Linked DNA regions of Homo sapiens: region 2 is linked to region 1. The links are contacts of gene promoters, found by promoter capture Hi-C in blood cells and fetal thymus (Javierre and others, 2016). All regions are on one chromosome and are shown on one strand. The core of a region is centred on a gene start or on the middle of the fragment in contact, and the rest is flanking DNA. Distances in the headings are between cores, read along the strand shown.

Evidence for each region. The method cuts DNA at HindIII sites, captures the fragments that hold promoters and counts their contacts. A CHiCAGO score of 5 or more calls a contact.
Region 2: a contact is called between a fragment that was not itself captured here and the fragment with the promoter of SMIM30 in region 1, in 1 of 17 cell types (neutrophils). The highest score is 6.0, in neutrophils.

Annotation. Positions count from the first base shown.
Region 1 is chr7:113,115,872-113,122,760 of GRCh38, reverse strand. SMIM30 (small integral membrane protein 30) reads left to right here and starts at 4,207. Exons shown (of 3, transcript NM_001352688.2): 1 at 4,207-4,233; 2 at 4,600-4,693; 3 at 5,154-6,043. The coding sequence starts at 5,183. The coding sequence ends at 5,362. All of the region lies in intron 2 of LOC107986837, which reads right to left. RefSeq lists enhancers at 3,808-3,947, 3,842-4,436. The HindIII fragment of the contact is 11,880 bases long and covers 1,459-6,889 here.
Region 2 is chr7:111,725,492-111,732,497 of GRCh38, reverse strand. It overlaps DOCK4 (dedicator of cytokinesis 4), which reads left to right. Exons shown (of 53, transcript NM_001363540.2): 52 at 211-272; 53 at 3,778-6,388. The coding sequence ends at 4,224. Among named protein-coding and RNA genes, the nearest start is that of DOCK4-AS1, 80 kb to the left of the region's middle. The HindIII fragment of the contact is 1,374 bases long and covers 4,750-6,123 here.

The DNA.
Region 1 (6,889 bases), core at 2,958-5,457:
TTCCCTGTGAAATGCACATACTGAATTGTTAGTAACCTCCCTACATTTTTGCAGGGACTAGTTTAAACTCTTGACCCCTAGCAAAGATTTTCTTTTTTTTTTTTTAACTTTTGAGCTTTGGGGGCACATGTGCAGGTTTGTTACATAGGTAAACACGTGTCATGGGGGTTTGTTGTACATATTCTTTCATCACCCAGGTATTAAGCTCAATACCCAATAGTTATCTTTTCTTCTTGCAAAGATTTTCAAAGGGTCTCTTTAACTTTCTTTTTGAATTTTGTATATTATATGGACTTCAGTTATTTCATGATAATTGAAATTTTCCAACATTTCACAATCTATGTTGACAGGGAACATCTATGCTCGTTAGTATGTGTGCTTTTGCGCCTGGGTCAGATATACTTCAATTTTTAAAAAAACACTTTTTTGTACATATTTATTAAATCTCAGTCAAAATCCACTGATAAATTAGGTGAATACTGGCACCCCCTCATTCACCACACTAGGGCCTAGAGGGAAGTACACAAACACCAGCAACCCCTCAAGTAGTCAACATGATTAGGCTTCCTAAGCGACATTAGAACACCTTATTAAAAAGAAAATTAAAATGGTTTTTGATCCTGTGGACATTTTCCACATAACAGTATGTGGACAATGATTAAAAGTATAAAGTTTGTCATATTTCCTGGATATATACCACTCACTAGTTATGTGACCTGGTGTAAATTACTTAACTATGCCTCAATTTCTTCATCAGAGAATAATAATAGTATCCAGTTCACAGGATTATTTTAAGGAGTAGAGGGGCTTATATTTATTAATGTGTGGAATAGTTACTGGTGCATATTAGTCACTATTTTAAGTGTTTGTTAAATATAAATGTCAATCAATCAATCTGACCCTATGCAGCATGAAACCATGTTTTCTAAGAAAATCTTTTTTTCCATAATAAATGTTTGTTCATCTCTCATGATGTAAGCTAATTCTGATTTTAAATTTCCTTGTGTAGCACTTAATAAATATTATTTGATCAGCTACTTCCATCTCTGAAAGGTCGTCTGTTGCCAATAATAGTGTCACTTACACTGACCACACTGAGCCACTTTACATGTCACCTCATTCAATCTGCATTAACAACCCTATGAAGATTGGTGATCCCCTTATTACAGATGAGAAAACTCAAGTTTCAGGAAGTTAGATAATTCGCACAGGTTTACAGAGTTAGAAAGTGGCAGAGGTAAATTTGGAATCAACCTCTGATGATCTCCAAACCCTGTCTTAATCAGTCCATTACCACGGATAAAGTGCTATATAGATAATGTCACAACTTTTCAAAACTAGAACTTTGTCATATCCAGTAATTTTTAACCTACTCCAAGAAGATCAGCAATATAAATAAAAGTGGAATCTGTCATGCCTATGAGTGGGGTTTCTCTACTTCCCCATCCTCCACAAGCTTCCGTGTGTGATTGATTCCCACAGACAAATGACGATCACCAGTGGGAGTAAGGACCACATACATAATGGGCTCTAGGTGGTGCCTGGAACTTTGCCCAAAATGACCTTTTGCACCTCTCCCATACACTTCTGTAAATGCTGGTACAAGAGGTACTTAGCCTCAGGAGACGTTTTCTGCAGTAGTTGAACAGCTCTGGAAAGTGTAGCTTCTCCCATCCTTTTGACCTAATGAGTAGTTAGTTCTAACATTCTCAGTGATTAGTCCTATTAATGATGGGAAATACTGACTAGGTCTGGGTTGGTCTTTTTTAATTGTGAAGCTCCAGTAAAATGTTTCGACTCACTTGGCTTGGCTCAATTGCTAATGAGGAAGTCTGGGTTTTATAAATTCCCTGACACACACCAGTCACTGCAAAATCCTGATATTGGCCTGTCCTGCATCCTCTGATGGATCCCAGAGGTGCCTTCCTTCAGGGCCTACCAATGACTCACTTCTAACAGAAAAATGAGCAGAAGCCACTTCCTTTTTTTTTTTTTTTTTTTTCCTGAAACCATTTCTGGGTAACAACTGATGGAAAATTTTGCTCTCCACTGCTCAGGTAAGTAACTAAAGTAAAGTGCTTTAAGTATCATTGGTGCCATTGATCTCTATTTCAGTAAAGGATGGTGTAGGTGCAGATTTGTTTGAATCGAAAGACTAAATTATGGATTCTATAACCCTAGACACTTAGTGTCAAAAGAACAACTACATAGAAGCCTGTAGAAACATTCATACAGCTTGGGAAAAATGGGAGTGTAGCATTGCTTCAGAAAATTGGTGGTTCACATTGCTACCAGAGATGTTCACAGGCAGAACTTGTAGTTGGCAGATGACGGACACAGAAGCAGCTTCTCATCTATCATCGCCTTTTTTAGAAGAGAGACCAAACATGTACAACATGGCAGTTATTATCCTGGTCAGCAATCTAGCCAAAATATCTAACCTGGTTTACAGCTAGGAAATAACAGTTCACTGAGATAGAGTGAAGGCATGTTAAAAATCACACAGTAGGAGCAGGTCAAAGCAGTGAAGGAGATTATCATATTCATGGTACTCCAGAAATTAATCCTTGCAACTACATCAGCTATTACTGGAACCCCGCCCCCGAGATCGACATTTCCCAATATAATATATATTTCACAAACTAATAAAAACCATCATAATTTAAAGAGAAAGTTTCTTGCCACTTACAGACTCTTTAAACTTAAAACCAAACCATTATCTTTAATGTTGACGTGCCTAGAAACAAGTCTGTAACAATACTAACTTTAAAGTAGTCTCTGCTGACTTCAGCTAACTAAAATAAACACATAAGGAAAAATAAACATGTAGGGAAAAACAAAATGTTCACAGTAGGATATGAGAGAATATTTTGGAAGCTATAAAAATATAACTCCTATTCCAAATATAATTGATTACAAAGGCACGAAAGTAGCTCAAAACAAAGGATGAAATGAACAAAACCTTGTTAAAATAATCAAGGTTAGAGAAACAATGCTGACGTTATTGTGCAGTTATTCTCAGATTTCCAATTTTCTAGTCACCTTGGTTTGGTTTATTTGGCACCTCTCGGTCTCTCATAAGATCTTGTTGGCATATTTATCTAGTCAAATCATTATTATTATTAGGCAACATTACTGAGCACCTGCTGGGTGCCGGTTAGGAGCCAAGAATATAAATCTTTGCTAGAGAGACTAGGAACGTGTAAGAAAAAGGGTAACCGACAACACAAGAATACATGCTAATTATTGGCATTGAACTGAACGTACCTGCATTATCTAACAGACTGAACCAGGGGACTTTCAGACCAGGCAGGTGGCTTCACACCCAACCCTCATCATTAATAATTTATAATGTAAGGATAGCAAATAAATTTTCAAATCAGTAAATATGAAAGAGTTCAGAAGATCAGATGACTAGAAAGGTTCAGTAAGGAGTTCACAATTAGCAGACAATTGAAAGAGCGCCTTTCAGAAAGGTTACGACTTACATATACAAATAACTAATTCTTGTTTTATGATTTAAAAGCAGTATTTTTACATCTTTTCACAAATATGTAGGGACATTTGGGGCTGAGGTTTCACAAAAACATAGGTGGGAAGGAATCACCGCAGTGCACTCCTGAATAGATTGTCACTTTAGGACCTGAATCCTGAGAGATCTTCTGCAACAGGGCTAAACCCATTTTTCCTAAACTTTATTTTGCACTACAAATGTTTTTTAACCTTTTACGATATGTCTTATTAACCGCGCTTTTTCCCCATTGACTAAAAAATTAATAAATGGCATATGTTTCATTAGGAAGATGGTGACAGAGATTTCCTGCTTCAGAAACGTTGGAAGCCACTGGTTTAAAAGCACCCGGAACAGAGGGCTGTACTTGGGTTCTCTCTCCCCGCTGTGTCATTTCAGTCGAAGAAAAAGACAAAATTACATGTGCGCCTTACAGACTCAACAGGGTAGAAAACACTTGCTATCATTTCTTTTATTTTGAAGTGAGCTTTTATATAAACACACGAAACCATCTATTTAATAGTAAAACGTTGGGCAGGGAAAGGAAGTCCCGCGCGTTCGCGACTCTTCGCCTCCGCTAGAGCGTGACCGTCACGCCCTCTGCTACTTATAGGGGGAACGCGCCGGGGCATCATAGGAGTCGGCGGCGGCAGGGATTGTGGGAAATGTAGTTTGGAGACTCCGCCCTCCTCGCCATTCCTGTAATGGCTGCTTCCTAGAAGGTAATGTACGAACTCGTCTCCAAAGGATACTTAGGTTGCACCAGTGTATTTGTAAAACAGGAGCAAATTTGGACCTTGCCGGGCCAAAGTACGAATTCTTTTTCAAATCTTAATATCAAGTCCTGAAATGAAATTATCTCTGTTCTGTTTCTTTTTACCTTTTCTTGTGTGGGTGAACTGACCAACTTTTAAGTCTAGTTCCCTGTTGGACAGACTTTTCTCAACTCATTACCTATCCCCCTACCGTCCATATGGCCTCCACGCTCTGCACTGACTCTAGCTGCCTCTTTAAAATAATAATAGTAATAATAATTAATTTTTAAATCCTTCTCTCCGCCCCCTCCCCACCCCCCATGCTAATAATAGGTCGTGTCACGTGGAACCTCTTAATCTCAGCATCCGGAGCTCCAGGAAGGGAAAATTTCAAGTCAGATAGAATTCTATATATACCATTTCTTTGGTAAGTCTTATTAATTCCCCACAACTTCGCAGAGTTATATGTTGTGTGACTTTTGCCAAATTTGTCTGCATTTCTTGGATGGGAGAGACCCTAAGAAAATGTACAATTTTTACCCACTAGGATATTTTAAGTTTCCAAGTTAGTGGCTCGTGCTTTTTTTCTGTTTGTTCTTAATTATGAACTCCTGTTCAATTTTTGTTTGGTTGATGCACGAGGTGTTGGCATTATCGTGGAAAATTCCTGGGTTTAGAGTGTTATCACGAGATAGGGAGATGAACCTCAAATTACTGTCTTTAACGTCCCTCTGTTTTTCCACCTATAAGATGAGGAGATGGATTGGAAATGATTCATAAAGTATCCAAAAGATTGGCTGGCCTGTTATTTGTCATGTGTTCATTTTGTCATTTGAAAAGGGAGGAATTTTTAATGGTTCCTTTTTGTTTCCATGTTTAATTTCTAGGAACCTTCAGCCCTCAAGATTCCAACATCATGACCTCAGTTTCAACACAGTTGTCCTTAGTCCTCATGTCACTGCTTTTGGTGCTGCCTGTTGTGGAAGCAGTAGAAGCCGGTGATGCAATCGCCCTTTTGTTAGGTGTGGTTCTCAGCATTACAGGCATTTGTGCCTGCTTGGGGGTATATGCACGAAAAAGAAATGGACAGATGTGACTTTGAAAGGCCTACTGAGTCAAACCTCACCCTGAAAACCTTTGCGCTTTAGAGGCTAAACCTGAGATTTGGTGTGTGAAAGGTTCCAAGAATCAGTAAATAAGGGAGTTTCACATTTTTCATTGTTTCCATGAAATGGCAACAAACATACATTTATAAATTGAAAAAAAAATGTTTTCTTTACAACAAATAATGCACAGAAAAATGCAGCCTATAATTTGCTAGTTAGGTAGTCAAAGAAGTAAGATGGCTGAAATTTACATAAGTAATATTTCATAATCTTAGAATTCTCTCAAAGCATGTGAAATAGGAAGAAGGAAGTTCTTGCCCAGAATCTTAGGAAATCACCACTGTTCGGTTATAATCACTGCCTCCTGAATCGTTGAGGAGTCTTTTAAATTAGATTTTTGTTTTGTTGTCTCCCAAGTTAATATTATATTTAGATATCAGAGAGTCAGGCAAAAAGGAAAACTTTTATCTCTAGGGAAAAAACATTTAGAAAAATGTATTCAGTGTATCTAATACTGAAATGCGGAAAAAAATTTAATGTTAAAAAAAAACTATAGACATTGACATGGAAAAGAGATTTAATGTTTTGAAAAAAAACTTTATATTAACTGAGTAACATCCTCCTGATGAGAAGTACTATATTAAATATAAACCCATTATGTTATAAGTTAATGTTTCGTGTCCATTTCTTATTTGGGGCTGTTTGTATCCATTGTGGATTTTTATATGAGCTAAGTGGAGAAGGGCAGGATGCCTTGTGTTAACTGATTGCGGTAGCTTGAAGAGACATAATGAGAACTGGGCAGCATTAAGGTCAGAGAAGCCCCTGATAGAAAATCTAGAAATATAGAAGGAAAATGAAATGGCTTAAACTGATTTGTACGCCAGCCAAACGAAATATCCTCTCTGGCCTAGCTACTTAAAGTGTCTTCAAGCCAGCAACATCACCTGGGGCTTGTTAGAAATGCAGAATCTCAGGCCCCACCCAGACCAATTGGATCAGGAACAGCATTCGTTTCCAAAGCCCAAGTTAATTTGTATGCACATTACAAATTTAAGAAGACTGCCAACTTGCTTGAGCCCAAGAATCATTCCAGGCACTTGATAAGACTTTTTGATTCCCTGGTCTTTCTCCTGGTTGTATAGCTGTGAGATGGGGCCTGGAACTCCATGTCTAACAAGGGTCCTCAGTGATTCATTTGATTCTCAAGTTGTAGCCAGCATAAAGTAGTCTAAGGAAATCAAACTTTAGGGTCACACTGGAGGTAAGTAGTGAAATTTTTTCCTAAAATGCATTTTCCAATCTGTAGCTCTCCAGATGACATTGGGAGCCTCATTTTTTATCCAAAAACAGGCACTAGCAACCTAAAGTCCTGTTTATGGTGTAATTCTAGAGTGAGCTGACTTGGCTTGCATGAAAGTTTTGGTTAAAGTGTACAAGGAGTGAAGAAGCATCACAGAATAAAGACATGGAAACTGAATGCACTTGTTTTTGTCACAGCTGTTTCGATTTTTTGC
Region 2 (7,006 bases), core at 4,187-6,686, 1.4 Mb after region 1:
ATGCTCCCATATCTTGGCAGTGCCACCCTTTGTGAGAACCCATTCTAGACAGGCATCATTTAGCTTCTCCCCCATCCTCACCACCCCCTTTGCTTAGAAGGTCCTTATGCACTGGATCATCTGTTTGGGTTTGTAACACAGAGGGCATGTGCAGATAGTCAATCGTCTGGTTTTTCTTAATTGAAATGTTATCTCTCTCCCCATTGACAGCTTCACCAGCAAGACACACGACATCAGTATCCCCCTCGCCTGCCGGGCGATCTCCATTGAAGGTAAAGGCCCTTCTTTCGACTGAGGCTAGAGACTGGCCCAGTTTTCTTTTTCTCTAAGACTCATCCCAGATATATCAAAAGGTGCTTTAATTTGCAGGGACCAGGCAAAGAACTTATCAATCAGGGATAGGGGAAGCTGGTTGAGAAAAACAACACTGGACTTTCCCTTCTGGGTGCCTCCTGCACAAACGCAGCCATTTGTTTTTCGATTATTAGCCTCATTCTCCAAATGGTAGCAGTGAGAACTTGCAGACTGAAGTCAGTGCATATACTGAATTAGGAAAGGAATGTGGTCCTAATGTACCTCCTAGGAAACTTTCAGCCTGGCCTTTTAGTTTAAGGTACATCAAACACACACACACACACTTAGATTGAGAAACATCAGTATCAAGATCTACTAAATATTCTGTGTCTTTTTGCCTTTATCGTCAGCCAAACCCATTTTGTCAAAGCCAAACCTAACATTCTCTGTTAATATTTTATACCAAGTTTCTCATTTACATTAGAAATACATACTTGATCATGAAAAACAAGGCAGTAATATGGATTTAAAAGATTTCTAGGGAACAAACTGGAAAGCTGTAAAGGTCAGACATTCGAATTGGTTTGTAGACATGGGCTATTTAACATCTTTAAACATAAAAAATCCCTCATGAAGATAAAGAATAATATTTAGTCTTATCCAAATTGAATCAGACCGGCTTCAAGGATTGTCAGTACGTGAGAGATTGGTGTTCAGAACTGCTGCACCAGAGGCAAATATGAAGTGTGTCGAAAGAATGATTTTGTACCTGAGTGACTTAGGATTTACACGCTCCATGTCCTTTGTGTGATGAGCTAGTTCTAGCTAATGTGCAAAAGACAAATTAGCCTCTACAAACACATAGGGGCAGGTTGCGATCCAGTGCATCTGTGGTGCTAACGATAGTTGCTGATAGAAATTGAGAAACGGGAAAACAACCCGCCTCCCCCCGCAAAATGGAGAAAATTGAAAGAAGTGTGATTCCCTTGCATTGCCAGAATTTCTGACGTAGAAATTCGCGGGTAAGTGCAAGTGATTTGCTCGTTTTGTTCTCATTCTGTAATGCAGCTGTTATTATGAAGTACCTGTGACAGCATTCACTCTGGAAGTCATAGCCTGTCACCTCGATGTGATAGAAAGGAAAGCAACATGGCTTTTCCGCACTTTTACATTTGCCCTTACTCACACAGAGCTCCCACACGTTGCTATGGAATTATCATCTGTATTTTTCAACTTAAATTTTGTTGGGTAGTAAGAAAATAAGTCTTAAGAGATTAATTCTTAAACATTAAAAAGAACCCAAGAGCTAAAAATGTTTGAATAGCTATAAAATAGTCTTAGCAAGCTGGTATATACTGTCTCTCAGCAGACCTGTGTACATTTTTACTGGCCATATGCAGTTCGAAGCCATGTCTTTATATGTAGGGTTTGAAGGAAGAGAACATAGATCGAACATTTGTGTTATACCTCCTGGGTTACATTAGGGGGCACACTGCTACCATGTTACTAGCCTTGCAGTGTGCTGCCTTAACTGATAAGAGTTTAGTGGGGTTTTGGGTTTTTTTTTTACCCCAGCCAGCCATCAAACTGTGGGTCTAACCCTACAGCGAAGACTGAGCTGACCTGCCATATTTTGAATTTCAGGTCTAACTTTTGACAGAGGTAGCAGTGAATTGGGAACTCTTAATTGGCCTTAATGTTAGGCTCCTACTAAATGACAGGATGTGTATCTACCAGCGTTATTTTGTTTACAAAGAGAAACCAAAGTCAAGTTAGCTTAAGAAGATAGCATTTCTCAAAGTGTATACCATAGAACACTAGTTTTCCAGGACATTATGTAATAAGCGGGGGAGAAAAGGTCTATAGTCAAGTAAGTTTGGAAAACACTGGACTGAACAAAATTATTTGTATTCCTTTATTCTAAGCCTTGAAAATGCGAATATGTTTTGAATATACACAAGGAGTATACAGTGTGCAGCATTTCCCAGCGGAACCCTCTTTTCACAGAGCATCTATCTTAGGACTCGTTTTCCTTGGGATACTAGTTGGGAAAGTAACAAACTCAGATGCCAAATGGGGCCAGACAGCTGACACAAATGAAGGAGGCCGGGTGTAGTCCCCACGTGGCATAGTGGGGACTGGCAAAGTGAAAAGGGACAGCCCTTCTCAGCTTTTAAAGATTATCTCTATTAAGAGAATGTGTGCCATTGTGGCCAGAACTCCTAGTTCTTTATGAACTGCCAGAATTCTGGAGTTTCATGTGAAATTTGAAATGTTAAAAATTAACTAAATTAGGTTTTTAAAAAACTGCTGAGGAAACAGCTCACATCACAGGCTACAGCCCCGAGGGCTGCCAGTTCGCCAGTTCAGCTCAGGAGTCTGGAGTCTGGAGTGATGGCTGGAGAAATCAGGTGCAGAACCTCGGGTGCCTCTGCTCCTCCTCCTGAGCTCTCTGGGTCTTCTGAGCTGAGTGTGCTCAGCGGCCCTGGCTCCTGGCCTGCAGCATGCCCTGCTGAGCTGGGAAAGTGAATAGCGCCCCCAAAGGTTTTATGGCGTTTTTAGGTTTTTGGGGTTTTTGGCCAGTTCCCTCTCTTCCAAACTATAGGACTAATGTGTGCCTCCAGATTATCTTGGTGGATACCTTTATTTATTTTTTGAGACAGGGTCTCATTGTGTTGCCCAGGCTGGAGTGCACTGGTGGCTCCACGGCTCACTGCAGTCTCAACCTCCCAAGGTTCAGGTGATCCTCCCAGAGGAACTGGGATTACAGGCATGAGCCACCACGCCCAGCTAACCCTTTGGATTTTTAGTAGAAATGGGGTTTTGCCATGTTGCCCAGGCTGGTCTCAAGCTCCTGGCCTCAAGTGATCCCTGCATCGGCCTTCTAAAGTATTGGGATTACAGGCGTGAGCCACCATGCCCAGCTCCTTTCTCCTCTATCTGAAAATGATAAGGAGTAAACTGGGCGGTGAACTGAACTCGAGGACTGGTGGCCCTCGCAGATAAACGTCTGGTGTGCATTTTCAGTGCTACAAAGGACAACACTCAAATTTGAGTGTGAGTGTATTCGTCTGCTCGGGCTTCCCTCACAAAATACCACAAACTGGGTGGCTTAGACACTGGGAATGTATTTTCTCAATTCTGGCAGGTAGAAGTCCAGGATCAATGCGTGGCAGCCTTGGTTTCCCCGAGGCCTCCCTCCTGGGCTTGCAGACCGCCCTTCCTGCAAGGTCTGTGTGTGTCGCATTCCTGACGTCTCCCTGTGTGTCCAAATGTCTCTTATAAGGACACCAGTCAGCTTGGATTAGGATCCACCATAATGGCCTTTTACCTTAATCACCTCCTTAAAGGCTGCATCTCCTGCTGCAGCCGGCTTTGGGGGTGCTGGGGGCCGGGGCCTCCGCGTCGGGGCGTACATTTCAGCGCATCTGCGTTCACGACTCAATGCTGTGTCTCCCTCTCGTTTCCTTCTCCCCGGAGCAGGGCTCTGTGCAGTCTTTCACCCCCTCTCCAGTGGAGTACCACTCGCCAGGACTCATCTCCAACTCCCCTGTCTTGTCGGGCAGCTACAGCAGTGGGATTTCTTCTCTCAGCCGGTGCAGCACGTCGGAAACCTCAGGCTTTGAAAATCAGGTGAATGAACAGTCGGCCCCCCTGCCGGTGCCAGTGCCGGTGCCCGTGCCGAGCTACGGCGGGGAGGAGCCAGTGCGCAAGGAGAGCAAGACTCCGCCCCCGTACAGCGTCTACGAGCGGACTCTGCGGCGCCCCGTCCCGCTACCTCACAGCCTCTCCATCCCCGTCACGTCGGAGCCGCCCGCGCTGCCCCCCAAGCCTCTGGCAGCGCGATCCAGCCACCTGGAGAATGGGGCCCGGAGGACTGACCCCGGCCCGCGGCCCAGGCCCCTGCCCCGCAAGGTCTCTCAGTTATAAGTCACTTTTCTATGTACCTGCGATGCATTCTTTGCCCGTTTACAAAATAAGAAGTATGATGAGAAGACATTTAGTGTAGGCACTTTAATAACTTACTCAGCTCCTTCGATGAATGGAATTAAAACTTGCTTATTAAATATCATGTTGCACAATATTAAAAGTTGCTGATCTAAAACGCCAGATGTTAAATGAAGTATGGCTGAATTTCATTAAAACGTTTCTCATTTGGAAGTGGTAAATAGTGATAAAGACTCCTTTTGTACCTTTTTATGTTCACTTTTTTTTATATAGTTTAATCTTAAAACCAATACGATATTGTCAAACGATACAATGTGTGACAATGTTGTATCGTTTTTACTGAATACTTGATACTTGGAGAAAGCTTATTAAGTCAGTGCACATCCTAACACAGTGGTCCTTATTTTAGAAGACTTCTGTAAATAAGGCAAGGTTTATCAGTGCAGATCATCAGAATTAAAGTTCAAGCAGGCGAGCAAGACAGTATACTTAAGGGGTTGCAAAGCTTGGGACTGGAAATTGTTTTGTTCTTGAAACAAAATACTTCTTTAAGGTTGCTTTTGCTGTTTGACTGCTGTCTACATTCGTAAAATTCTATTTTGTGAATTGGTAGCTAAATCCCTTACTACCCTGACACCGTGGTATCTACTGTATTTCTTTTCAAGGTGCAATTTGCTTCAGAGTTCCAATCAGCTAGATTAAGCAAGAGGCTCCAGAAGAAATGTTTACTTGAATTTTGCGCTTCCTTTCTTGATAGTTTCCTATATAAAATTTGTCATTGAACAAGAGCAAATGCTGAAGTATTAATGAGGCACAAATGACTGTGCCCCATTAGCAAGAATTCAGGAATCAATACAGACAGTATTAAATTAATAGCTTAAGTGAAGAAAAAAAAAACTTAGTGAAAATGTATTAGCACGATTAAATGGCAAAAGGACTTATAAAAGGCAAGGGCATTAACTTTCAGTCCTGCACAAAATAAAAAATTCCTCACGACTCTCCACTTTTACCAGTGGAGTTTGTCTTAGCTGACCTGTCGTCTTTCTCTTGAAGGAGGATTGCTGTAGACTTCTCTAGCTTGAATATTGCAACATAGCATCTTAGGTCTAGATAGGGATGCTAATGCCAGTTGTAGAAGTGTGAAAAAAGCACCTTGTATGTAGTAATGTATTTTATATCTTTGTTTTTTCTTTTACTGACTGTTTATAACACTCAATTGACAATAGATATGAACTGTATTTTAAATCATACTGTTAAATATTTTCCCTCTTTTGTTGGGAAGCTCATTTTAGTTTAACCATGTTTGTTTTGTTGGTAGCTTACCTGGAAGGCAGTGACCACTTTTTTATATTCTCTTAATGAAACCATTCAGCAGGTATATGCTGTTGAGGCTGGTTATAGAGGTTTTCTATAATAAATGTTCAAGTATTTTTGTATATAACTGGTTAATTTTAATAAGAGATACCATTATGTGTAAAAAAAAGTAAAAATAAACGCAAACAGTTGTTGATGCAGTATGATTGTTATAATTATGCCAAATACTTTACGTATGGAAAAAGAATATTTGTACATATGTGCTTTTAACAATTCTGCCATATTGACTTTACAATTTTGAATGTCGGAAAAATTAATATATGTTAAATATTTATGTTTAGTGAAAGTGTTCATAATTGAGAAAAGGAACATATGCATTTTAGCTTTGTATCTTGCAAGTTTTGCAGTCAGAAATTTTTTGAACTAGCTTTTGCTTTTGATAACACTTCGTGTTTGTAACCACATTCATATATATATACATATATATGTGAAGCTCCATATTTCTGTTGCTTTAAAGAAGTAAAACCTTCCATTTAAATAAGATGACATGCATAAGATAACAAAGCTTCCTTGATTTCCTTTTCCTGTGTAATTTAATAGATTTGTTGACTAGTGCTTGGGCACATTATAAATCAGTGTTATTTGCTCTTGGAGCCATTTTTTAAAAAAAATTTTGGCAGTGAGCAGTTGAATTTATCTTGAATTTATCATGTGTGTGTATTTCTGAAGCAGCTACATAGCAGAACATTTTAAGAGATTCTGTTAGCCCACATGTTCATGTTGGTTGCTGCTGAATGGTAAATATTAAATAAAATTACCAGATTAATCTTAATATTTCTGTCTTTACTCCTATCATCAGCATGTCTTTACTTGTAATAGAAGCGGCTCTTGATCTTATTATAGTGAGATTTCCAGACTTCTTTTTAGATAGATCCTGTTTGTGTTGTCCTGCCACGTAGATGCATTTCACACTCACTACGGCTCACTTATGCCATAGGGAACAATCACCAGAAAGGTAACAAACAGTATGGGTTAATATCCCATAGAAAGGGTAACATTTACGTGGTTGGCTGACCATTCATTGGCCTAACCAGAGCCAACTTAACAAGTCAAACCATCAAAATGTGTTTGCATCAGAAAACTTGACATAAAACAGATAACTTCCAAGCATATAAGGGCATGGTTAAATGCTGGTTTTGACAGCTGTGGTAAAAATCTATCTGCATGCCAACTCTTCTCCCTGGTTTTCATAAAATGATAGAAAATATACATGTGACATACACTGAAAAACCCACTGACTACAAGATTTCGATTAATAAAGCCTGGCTTTTAACTTGGTGAAATGTGTCAATATTGTATAAGGTTGAAGACATTTATGTAACTCAGTGCCAAGAAAACCACTGTCTACAGCTTCAGCCTCGTAGAATACAAAAATCCATTTAAAGGCCAT